2 separate regions of the Homo sapiens genome follow, and region 1 is linked to region 2. Evidence: promoter capture Hi-C in 16 types of primary human blood cells and fetal thymus (Javierre and others, 2016). All regions are on one chromosome and are shown on one strand. Each heading gives the region's core, a stretch centred on a gene start or on the middle of the fragment in contact. The rest is flanking DNA. Distances are from core to core; before and after follow the strand shown. Region 1 overlaps LOC124905186 (a long non-coding RNA gene). Region 2 holds the start of ERAS (ES cell expressed Ras).

Region 1 (5,224 bases), core at 2,211-4,710, 170 kb before region 2:
AATTGATCTACTAGCAATTAGTGAGATGGAGCAGGAGAAGGAGCTAGCTTGCTATGGAAAAAGTGACAAAGAGATGGACTGAGTTGAGACACTTAGAGGTCTCTGACACTAACTGGCTGCCTCACTTTGTACAAATCACTTTATTCATCTGTTTCAGGCTTCCACTTGGTTTTGTTTTGTTTTTTGAGATAAGAGTCTTGCTCTGTCATCCAGGCTGGAGTGCAATGGCGTGATCTCGGCTCACTGCAATCTCTGCCTCCTGGGTTCAAACGATTCTCCTGCCTCAGCCTCCTGAGTAGCTGGAATTACAGGCATGCACCACCAGGCCCAGCTAATTTTTTTTTTTTTTTTAGTAGAGATGGGGTTTCACCATGTTGGCCAGGATGGTCTCGAACTCCTGACCTAAGGTGATCAGCCTGCCTGGGACTCCCAAAGTGCTGGGATTACAGGCGTGAGCTACCACGCCCGGCCCAGGTTTCCACTTTTGTTATGAAGGTGTTACAGTTATCAGGGCTGGGGATGGATATGCACATTAATCGTGTTTTTTAATTTTCTGTATTTCATGATGCTTTGACATCTTGGGGCCTTGCTAATCTTGGAGAGACTGTCCCTCCCAGGGCTAACTAATTCCTACAGAACTTGACTCTGAGCATGCTTTTGATATGCAAACCAACAATCATGAGACCATACCCAAACCACCTCCTTTTTCTAACTCTCACACACCAGCCAATATTCCCCCTCCAGGGCCAGGTACTGAACAACTAGGGGCCACCCTGTAGCCCACCAAAATCATTCAAACTATCCAGTCCTAAGGTTTCTCAGCTTGCCAATCCTGTCTCATCCATTCCTTCCCATAAAACCTACAATAAAGGCTCTGGGCCCATGCTTTCTCCTCACTCCTGACTCCTGACTGACCCTGGTGCCTCCCATGTGGCCCTTGCATGGCCATGGCTTGGCAAGCCCCCTCCTCTTGAGAACTGTGAGTAACAAACTATCTTTTCAATGGCAGTTGCCTTGTGATCTGCTGGGCTCACCATACCTCAATTTTTAAAGATTCTTGGTTATATTTTAAAACAATCTAACCCCAGGTGCTAACTCTGGTGGCTGCTTAATAGCTGTCCCAAGTGAGGGATGAGAAAAATCTTCAGGTTGAGTCAAAATATCAATGTCTGCCCTGAGCATGGGTTGTGAGGAATAAAGATGTGAGAGAAAGGGTTTGTCCTCCCTGACACAGATGATCTCTAGGGGCCCTTGCAGCTCTAATATCTAAGCATTTTAGAAAGTATTTTAAGGCCAGGCACAGTAGCTCATGCCTATAATCCCAGCACCTTGGGAGGCTGAGGTGGGCAGATCACTTGAGGTCGGGAGTTCGAGACCAGCCTGGGCAACATGGCAAAACCCCCATCTCTACTAAAAATACAAAAATTAGCCAGGCATGGTGCCACATGCCTGTAATCCCAGCTACTCGGGTGGCTGAGGCAGGAGAATCTCTTGAACCCAGGAGGTGGAGGCTGCAGTGAACTGAGATCACACCACTGCACTCCAGCCTGGGCAACAAAGCAAGACTCTGTCTCAAAAAAAAAAAAAAAAGAAAGAAAGGAAGAAGAGGAACAGGAGGGAGGAGGAGGGATCTGAGCTAGCACGCTCAGCCCCTTGCCAAGTGATACCCTGCACTGTCTCAGGACTCTTCAGAGTCCTCACCAGCAAAAAGTCCCCCACCAGATGCAGCCCCTTGACCTTAGACTTCTCAGCCCCCACAACTGTAAGAAAGAAATTCATTTCCTTTAAAATTACCCAGTTTCAGGTATTCTGTTATAAGCAACAGAAACTGGACTAAGACAGGAAAACACAAACATTCAGTCCATTGCCTTCCAACACCTGCCTGCCCCCGACAATTCATGTGCTTCTCACATGCAAACTACATTCAATTCCATCCAAACATCCCCCCAAATCTTAACTCATTCCAGTATGAACTCTAAAGTCTAAAGCCAAAAGTCTCATCTAAAGATCATCTAAATCAGGTATGGGTGAAACTCACCCTGAAGCAAAATTCCTCTTCAGCTGCTTAAAAGAAACCAAAGTATTTGCTTCCAAAATACAATGATGGGACACAAAGAGGGTCTATAAACATTCCCATTCCAAAAGGGAGAAACAGGGAAGGAGGACGGGGTGACAAGTCCCAAGCAAGTCCAAAACCTAGCAAGGGAAGTTCTGTGAGATCTTGAGACTCAGGTAATCCTCTTTGGCTTGAAGCTTTGCCTCCAGACCTACTGGGGTGTCAGTCCCTCATGCCAGACCCACTGAGGGGGCAATGTCACCCTCACAGTGAGAGACAGGACTAGCTGGATTTCCTAGGCTGACTAAGAATCCCTAAGCCTAGGTGGGAAGGTGACCGCAATCCACCTTTAAACACGGGGCTTGCAACTTAGCTCACACCCGACCAATCAGGGAGTAAAGAGAGCTCACTAAAATGCTAATTAGGCAAAAACAGGAGGTAAAGAAATAGCTAATCATCTATCACCTGAGAGCACAGCGGGAGGGACAATGATAGGGATATAAACCCAGGCATTCGAGCCCGCAACGGCTACCCTCTTTGGGTCTCCTCCCTTTGTATGGGAGCTCTGTTTTCACTCTATTAAATCTTGCAGCTGCACTCTCTTCTGGTCCGTGTTTGTTACGGCTCGAGCTGAGCTTTCACTTGCAGTCCACCACTGCTGTTTGCCGCCGTCGCAGACCCGCCATTGACTTCCATCCCTCCAGATCCGGCAGGGTGTCCGCTGTGCTCCTGATCCAGCAAGCCGTCCACTGCTGCTCCCGATCGGGCTAAAGGCTTGCCATTGTTCCTGCATGGCTAAGTGCCTGTGTTTGTCCTAATCGAGCTGAACACTAGTCACTGGGTTCCACGGTTCTCTTCCGTGACCCACGGCTTTTAATAGAGCTATAACACTCACGCATGGCCCAAGACTCCATTCCTTGGAATCCGTGAGGCCAAGAACCCCAGGTCAGAGAACCCGAGGCTTGCCACCATCTTGGAAGCAGCCCACCACCATCTTGGGAGCTCTGGAAGCAAGGACCCCCACCCCCCGGCCCGGTAACAACAGTTTGGCAGCACTCACTGCTCATGCTGTGGTTGTCAGGGCAGGAGTTGTAGCCTCAGGGCTCTGCTGGGAGCCTCCATCCCCACCGCTCTACTGGGCATTGGTCTCACCCTTTGAAATGGAGGTGGAGGCTGGGAGTGGTGGCTCACACCTGTAATCCCAGCACTTTGGGAGGCCAGGACAGGCCAGTCACAAGGTCAGGAGATCGAGACCATCCTGGCTAACAGGGTGAAACCCCGTCTCTACTAAAAATACAAAAAATTAGCTGGGCGTGGTGGTGGGCGCCTGTAGTCCCAGCTACTTGGGAGGCTGAGGTGGGAGAATGGCATGAACCTGGGAGGCGGAGTTTGCAGTGAGCCAAGATTGTGCCACTGCACTCCAGCCTGGATGACAGAGCGAGACTCTGTCTCAAAAAAAAAAAAAAAAAAGAAATGGAGGTGCAGGTAGTCCTATGCCCTAAGCCCATGTACTCTGGGCCTCTGATGGGACTGGTGACCTGGACGGTCTCTGAATCACCTTCAGGGTTCTTCTTCCCTTATCTTGAAGAACAGTGTGTGTTCACAGCCGAATAGTTCTATGGTTTGGTCCTATAGGATCTAAGAAGTTTAATCATCTTCCTTCATTTTGTCCCATTTTCTTTTTTTCTTTTTCTTTTTTTTTTTTGAGACAGAGTCTCCCTCTGTTGCCCAGCACCCAGGCTGGAGTGCAGTGGTGCAATCTCAGCTCACTGCAACCTCCGCCTCCTGGGTTCAAGTGATTCTCCTGCCTCAGCCTCCCAAGTAGCTGGGATTACAGGCGTGCACCACCGCACCCGGCTAATTTTTGTATTTTCAGTAGAGACAGGGTTTCACCATGTTGGTGAGGCTGGTCTTGAACTCCTGATCTCAGGTGATCCACCCGCCTCAGCATCCCAAAGTGTTGGGATTACAGGCATGAGCCACTGTGCCCAGCCATTTTGTCCCATTTTCTCTGTTTCCTTTAGTCCCAGTCAGCAGTGCCATTTCCAGTACAATCCCATCGCTATTGCTGTTTTGTTGAGATGGTTAATGAAGTCCACAGTTCACATTCACAGTAATCTCCTTGTCAAATAGTCCAGCAGATCCTTAGTGTTCTCTTCCAAACATGCTTTGTCATGTTTTGTAATATGGACAGGGACAGGCTGAGAATTTTCCAGACCCACTGAGGGAGCAATGTCACCCTCATAGCTTGGGTAAGTTTAAGTTCTGGTTCCTTTTTGCATAACAATTCTGTTTTCAATTCATATCTCTCTTCTCAAATTTGACTATAAGCAGTCAGGAGGAACCAAGCCTCTCCTTTCAACACTTTGCTTAGAGATCTCCTCAGCTAAATCTCCATTTCACTGTTCACAAGTCCTACCCTCTACAAAACACTAAAACGTAAACACAATTCAGCCAGGTTCTTTGCTACTTTATAACAAGGATCACCTTTTCTCCACTGTCCAATAACACGTTCCTCATTTCTACCTGAGACCACATCAGAACAGCCTTTAACCACCCATATTTCTACCACCAATCTGTTCATGATTACTTATGTATTCTTTAAGAAAGCAGAAGCTTTCTCTACAGCTCTCCTCATTTCTTTCTGACTGCTCATCAGAATCACCTTTAAAGGTCCATTCAATGGCAATATAGGATTTTTCTTTTTTTCCTTTTTCTTTTTTTTAGATGGAGTCTTGCTCTGTTGCCCAGGCTGGAGTGCAGTGGCGCAATCTTGGCTCACTGCAACCTCCACCTCCCTGGTTCAAGCAATTCTCCTGCCTCAGCCTCCTGAGTAGCTGAGATTACAGGTGTGCGCCACCACGCCCGGCTAATTTTTTTTTTTTTTTTTGTATTTTTAGTGGAGATGGGGTTTCACCGTGGTGGTCAAGTTGGTCTCAAACTCCTGACCTCATAATCCATCCACCTCGGCCTCCCAAAGTGCTGGGATTACAGGTGTGAGCCACCGCACCTGGTGGCAATATAGGATTTTTCTAGCGCATGCACCCAAATTTATGTCTTAGTCTGTTTTCTGTTGCTATAACAGAATACCACAGACCAGGTAATTTATAAAGAAAAGAAGCTCAGCCAGGTGCAGTGGCTCACACCTATAATCCCAGCACTTTGGGA
Region 2 (5,342 bases), core at 73-2,572:
CCTTATAAATAGGAGCCTCACAGCCAGTCCCAGCCACACCCACACCCTAGGCTGAGAAGGCAAGAAAACTAGCAGGAAGTATCCTTACCAGGCCTGTTTCCCCACTGTCTCATTGGCCTGACTGGGGATGGTGGGAGGTCCAGGTTTAACTTGAATGTGGTGGTCATGGTAGCTTCTTGGCAGAAGGGGTGCCTGCCATTGACCACAGGTGGGAAATTGGAGGACAGTCTGAGAGCTGAATTTCTCCCACGTGGTGAGAATTGCTTTGGCAGCTCAAGGGAGTTGGATCTGAGGTTTCCAGGACTTTTCTTCATGGCCACCTTATGATCCCAAGCTGACCACCACAGCCTTACTGAGTCAAGAAGAGGAGGGATGGGGAAGGGCCGGGGCTGCCCCGTTCTTGTTTTGTTTTGTTTTTTGAGATGGAGTCTTGCTCTTGTCACCCAGGCTGGAGTGCAGTGGCACGATCTCGGCTCATTGCAGCCTCTGCCTCCCAGGTTCAAGTGATTCTCCTTCCTCAACCTCCTGAGTAGCTGGGATTACAGGTGCCTACCACCACACCTGGCTAATTTTTGTATTTTTAGTAGAGACGGGGTTTTGCCATATTGGGCAGGCTGGTCTCAAACTCCTGACCTGGTGATCCGCTGGCCTTGGTCTCCCAAAGTGCTGGGATTATGGGTGTGAGCCACCACTCCCGGGCCAGGGGCTGCCCTGTTTTAAGAGCCCTCTGGATGCCCCACCTCTGCTGCCCTCTCATTGATCAGGACTGTGCATGTGGTTGCCATAGCTGCAAGGGAGCCTGGGAAATGTGTAGTTTGACAGGCAGCCGCCTCCAATCAGGGTCTTTCTTCCCTGACAGAATGACCCCTCCTCTGTCACTGTCTTTTCTCCAGAGCTACCAAAAAACCGAGTTGAGGCAGCACAGGCTCTGTGGCCTGAAAGAGCTTCCCACAAAACCGTTCCCAAAGTCAGGCCATCCTGGTCAAAATCTAACACCCAACTCTCCCACACACACACACCACCAACAGGAAAGCAAGGGAGAGGCGCCACAGGGGACACACGGGGAGGTTTGGCCGCCGTCCGTGCACCCCTAGAGGCCGCTGTGGCACCCACGTGCCTGTGCGCAAGCCGCCTGGGGGGGCACGACCCCTTGCTCCCCCGGGGCAATGGCACGGGCAGGGGCGGGGCAGTGGCAGGGGCAGGGGCGCGGCGCAGGGGGGTGGGCGGCCTGAGGAGCCGAGGGAGGGCGGCTGCGCATGTCCACTCCCCCAACCGCCGCCGGGGTGCCCCGGGGAGCAGCGTCGCCCCCCGCCAGGCCTGTCAGAGCGTCCCAGCGCGCCCGCCTCCCCACGGACACAGGTGAGCGAGGCGCCGGTGCCCCTGGCCCTGCCAGGCCTGGGGGTATCCCCGCGCCGGCTTTGGGGGATCGTCCCCCAAGCGCCAAGCCTTCTCCCGGGCGAGCGGCCCCTCACTCGGCCGGCCGGGAGGGGTGTCGGCGCTTGGCTGGAAGCGGGGCCGCCTCACCCGGAGTCGGGATGGGTCTTGACAGGATGCCCGGGCGACGCTGCTCACACCGAGCCCGAAGTGGAGTCCTGGTTTCGGGGACCCTTCCGCACTCCGAGCTTTGCACCTCACCCGGCCTCGTCCGGGAAAGCACGACCTGGCGAGGCCGCCCTAACCCCAGGTCCCGGCCCCTTAGCGCGCCAGCCTTGGTGAGCTGGGCGAAGCCCCCCAACCTGGTCCCAGCGGCTCTGAGCGCGCGGCCACGGGGACCCGCCGGGGGCTCCGCGCCACTTGAGAGGACCGAGCCCCCAATCTCCGGCGCCTCCCGCGGGCTGAGGCCCCGGGCCAGTGCCCTCGGCACGTGCCTCTGCGCCTCGGGCTCCTCCCGGGAGCGGAGCCTTGGGGACCAGGGCCGCGGCCTCCCTGCGCGTCGCGGGGACTGGGCGAGTGTGGCCCCGTCCCGCCAGGCACCTGGGGTGGAAGCTGCGCTCCGCCACTCGGCCAGGCCCCGGGCTTTTCCTTCCTCACCGTCGGCGCCCCCAGACTCCAGCCGCTCAGACCCCGACTTAAGAGGCAGCCTCGACCCCGCCTCTGCCTTCTGACCCATCCCTAAAGATGGCCGGGCACCCCTACAGGACCCCCAGAAGCCGACCTCTCCCTCCACGTGCGCCGCCGCCTCGCCCCTCCCCGCAGTCCTCCAGGTCTTCTTCCTGTCCCCAACCGTCGGGGACCCCCAAGCTCCGTCCTCCGCTTCCTGCTCTCTTTATCCCGCCCCCGCTCCTTCTGGGCCAACGCCGCCAGTGACTATTCCCAGGGATCCCTCAGAGCTGAGGACGCCGCGGCCGCATCCCCATTTGGGACCTTGCCCCGACTCCGACCTCCGGATCTCCAGCTCCACCAAACCTCGAAGCCACCATCCGCCCCCAAACTGCCGCTGCGCCAGGCTTTCGGAGGGGAGTCGTGGCAACAGCCATTAGGATGCACTAAGCAGGGCACTTCCTGAGCCCAAGGACACCGAGGGGCATTCACTGAGTGAATGGGGATGTGCTGCTAATAACTAACACTAATTGACCACCTGCCGTGTGCCCATCCTCTTCGAACATGCAACTTCCTTGTTCCTTATCTTGTTACTGTCTCTTTCTCTCTGCCAGAATCCAATCCTCACAAGGGCAGGGACTGGGGTCTGTTTTGTTAACTGCCATATCACAATGCCTGGCACGAAGGAAGATTCTTGAATTAATGAATGGAGATTAAATTATAATTTAAAAGCCTGGCATGAACTGAGCACCTTCTGCATGCTTATCACCCGCTACTGACATATAGTTCACTTTTTTTTTTTTTTTTTTTTTGAGACGGAGTTTTGCTCTTATCTCCCAGGCTGGAGTGCAAGTGGTGTGATCTCAGCTCACTGCAACCTCCGCCTCCCGGGTTCAAGCGATTCTTCTGCCTCAGCCTCCCGAGTAGCTGGGATTACAGGCGTCCACCACCACTCCTGGCTAATTTTTTTGTGTTTTTATTAGAGACAGGGTTTCGCAATGTTGGGCAGGCTGGTCTCGAACTCCTGACCTCAGGTGATCCACCCGACTCGGCCTCCAAAGTGCTGGGATTACAGGCGTGAGCCATTGTGCCCCGCCCCCTTTTTAACCTAGTTTGTTGTCTCTCACCCCGACCAGAATATAACCTTCATGAGGGCTACAGTTTGTTGTCTATTTATTGCCCAACTCCATGTCCTTGCCACACAGTAGGTTCCCAATAAATGTATGTTGAATAATTAATAAAGACTACATTCTAATGATAATGGCTAACAGACCACGTGATTTACATATTTATTTGGTTTATTATATTATCTGCCTCTGCCTTTTAGAACATAAACCTTCTGGGGGTGGGAATGTTGGGTCCCTACTGTCTGGCAGGCACTGTGCTGGGCTAGGGTTCAATGGTGACCAAAACCGGCAAAATCCTGCCCTCCCTCTGTCATGGGGAGGAACTGCTAATGGGCATGGGGATTCTTTTCTGGGTGAGGAAAATGTTCTAAAATTTACTTATGGTGATAGTTGCACAACTTCGTGAATATGCTAAAACCCGTTAAATTGGACACTAGCTGGCTGAACTTGATGGGATGTAAATTACATCTCAATAAAGCTGTTTGGGAAATCCAGCCTTCACAGTTGTTGATTCGCGTGAGGAGGGAAGGAGAGATGGGGGGACGTGGGACAGGGAGAAAACAACATAAATCATATATATATAGCATGCAAATTGGAAGGTGATCAGCACACAATAGGCATTCAATAAATGTTGAAATAATGACACCCCACTGTCTCCTTGCCCTCAAATGGTCTCCCCTAACGTATCCCCTGTTGTCTTGCTTCTTCTCTTCCCACTTGCAGAGCCTGCTGCCCACGTCTCTTCCCTGAGCTGCCTGCTGGGGTCATGGAGCTGCCAACAAAGCCTGGCACCTTCGACCTGGGCCTGGCCACATGGAGCCCTTCCTTCCAGGGGGAAACCCACCGGGCTCAGGCACGCCGCAGGGATGTTGGCAGGCAGCTGCCTGAGTACAAGGCTGTGGTGGTGGGCGCCAGTGGCGTGGGCAAGAGTGCGCTGACCATCCAGCTGAACCACCAGTGCTTCGTGGAGGACCACGACCCCACCATCCAGGATTCCTACTGGAAGGAGTTGACCCTGGACAGTGGGGACTGCATTCTGAATGTGCTGGACACAGCAGGGCAGGCCATCCATAGGGCCCTGCGTGACCAGTGCCTGGCTGTCTGTGATGGTGTGCTGGGCGTCTTCGCTCTCGATGACCCCTCGTCTCTGATCCAGCTGCAGCAGATATGGGCCACCTGGGGCCCTCACCCCGCCCAGCCCCTTGTCCTCGTGGGCAACAAGTGTGACCTTGTGACCACTGCTGGAGATGCTCATGCCGCTGCTGCAGCCCTCGCACACAGCTGGGGGGCCCACTTCGTGGAGACCTCGGCCAAAACACGGCAAGGCGTGGAGGAGGCCTTTTCCCTGCTGGTCCATGAGATCCAGAGGGTCCAGGAGGCCATGGCGAAGGAGCCCATGGCAAGGTCCTGTAGGGAGAAGACCCGGCACCAGAAGGCCACCTGCCACTGTGGCTGCTCTGTGGCCTGAAGGTCTTGGCCAAGAAATGTAGACCTTTCCCCAGGCCAGGGTGATTGTTCATTTGACATGAGACCCCTGAGGCAACTAGCTTTGAGGGACACATCAGGTATACTAGGGAAAGATGGACATCTCTCTTGTTTTCACTTGGTGAGGGGCTTTTTGGTAACATGGGAGTGCCTAATGTTGCTTTTGTTATGTCAAGTTGAAAGATTTTGTGCAAAATTAAATAAATGGTGTTTTGGGTTTCAAAGCTGCCTCCATGCCGAGTGTTGTGTGGGTGGGAGTGAGACTGGGTAGAATGTTACTTGAGTTGTGAGAATTCTTTCATTCAAGAAATTCAGGGGGAGCCCACTGTGTGCTAGGCTCCGCTTTATATATAAGGGAGGTAGAGGCAAACAAGACACTTAAAAATCCTTGCCCTTATAGATATGGCATCAGGCTAGATAGTGATAAAGGCTACGTGTTAAAGGCAGGTGAAGGAATAGGGTGACAGGTCCAGGAAAGCCTTCTTGAGAGTAGGTGACATCTGGACAAAAACCTGAAGATATCCAGAGGCAGAGGGACTAGCCAGTGCAAAGACCATGGCCACAAATCAGCTGCCACCACAGCAACCCTCAGTATATCCAGGGCCTGGAGCAAGAGTACAGGTAGGCCTCTACACTACATAACTAAATATGTAAACGTTCAGACATTACGAATCAAGCTTTACAAAGTAA

The links. Contacts are between HindIII fragments. The CHiCAGO score rates a contact against its expected background, and 5 or more counts as called.
Region 1: a fragment that was not itself captured here is called in contact with the fragment with the promoter of ERAS in region 2 in 10 of 17 cell types (M0 macrophages, naive CD8 T cells, naive CD4 T cells and 7 more); the score reaches 8.7 in M0 macrophages.

What each region holds. Positions count from the first base shown.
Region 1 is chrX:48,652,199-48,657,422 of GRCh38, forward strand. All of the region lies in intron 1 of LOC124905186 (a long non-coding RNA gene), which reads left to right. Among named protein-coding and RNA genes, the nearest start is that of WAS, 29 kb to the right of the region's middle. The HindIII fragment of the contact is 2,419 bases long and covers 2,252-4,670 here.
Region 2 is chrX:48,825,191-48,830,532 of GRCh38, forward strand. ERAS (ES cell expressed Ras) reads left to right here and starts at 1,323. Exons shown (of 2, transcript NM_181532.3): 1 at 1,323-1,359; 2 at 3,891-4,679. The coding sequence starts at 3,934. The coding sequence ends at 4,635. RefSeq lists a silencer at 1,141-1,190. The HindIII fragment of the contact is 5,532 bases long and covers 1-5,327 here.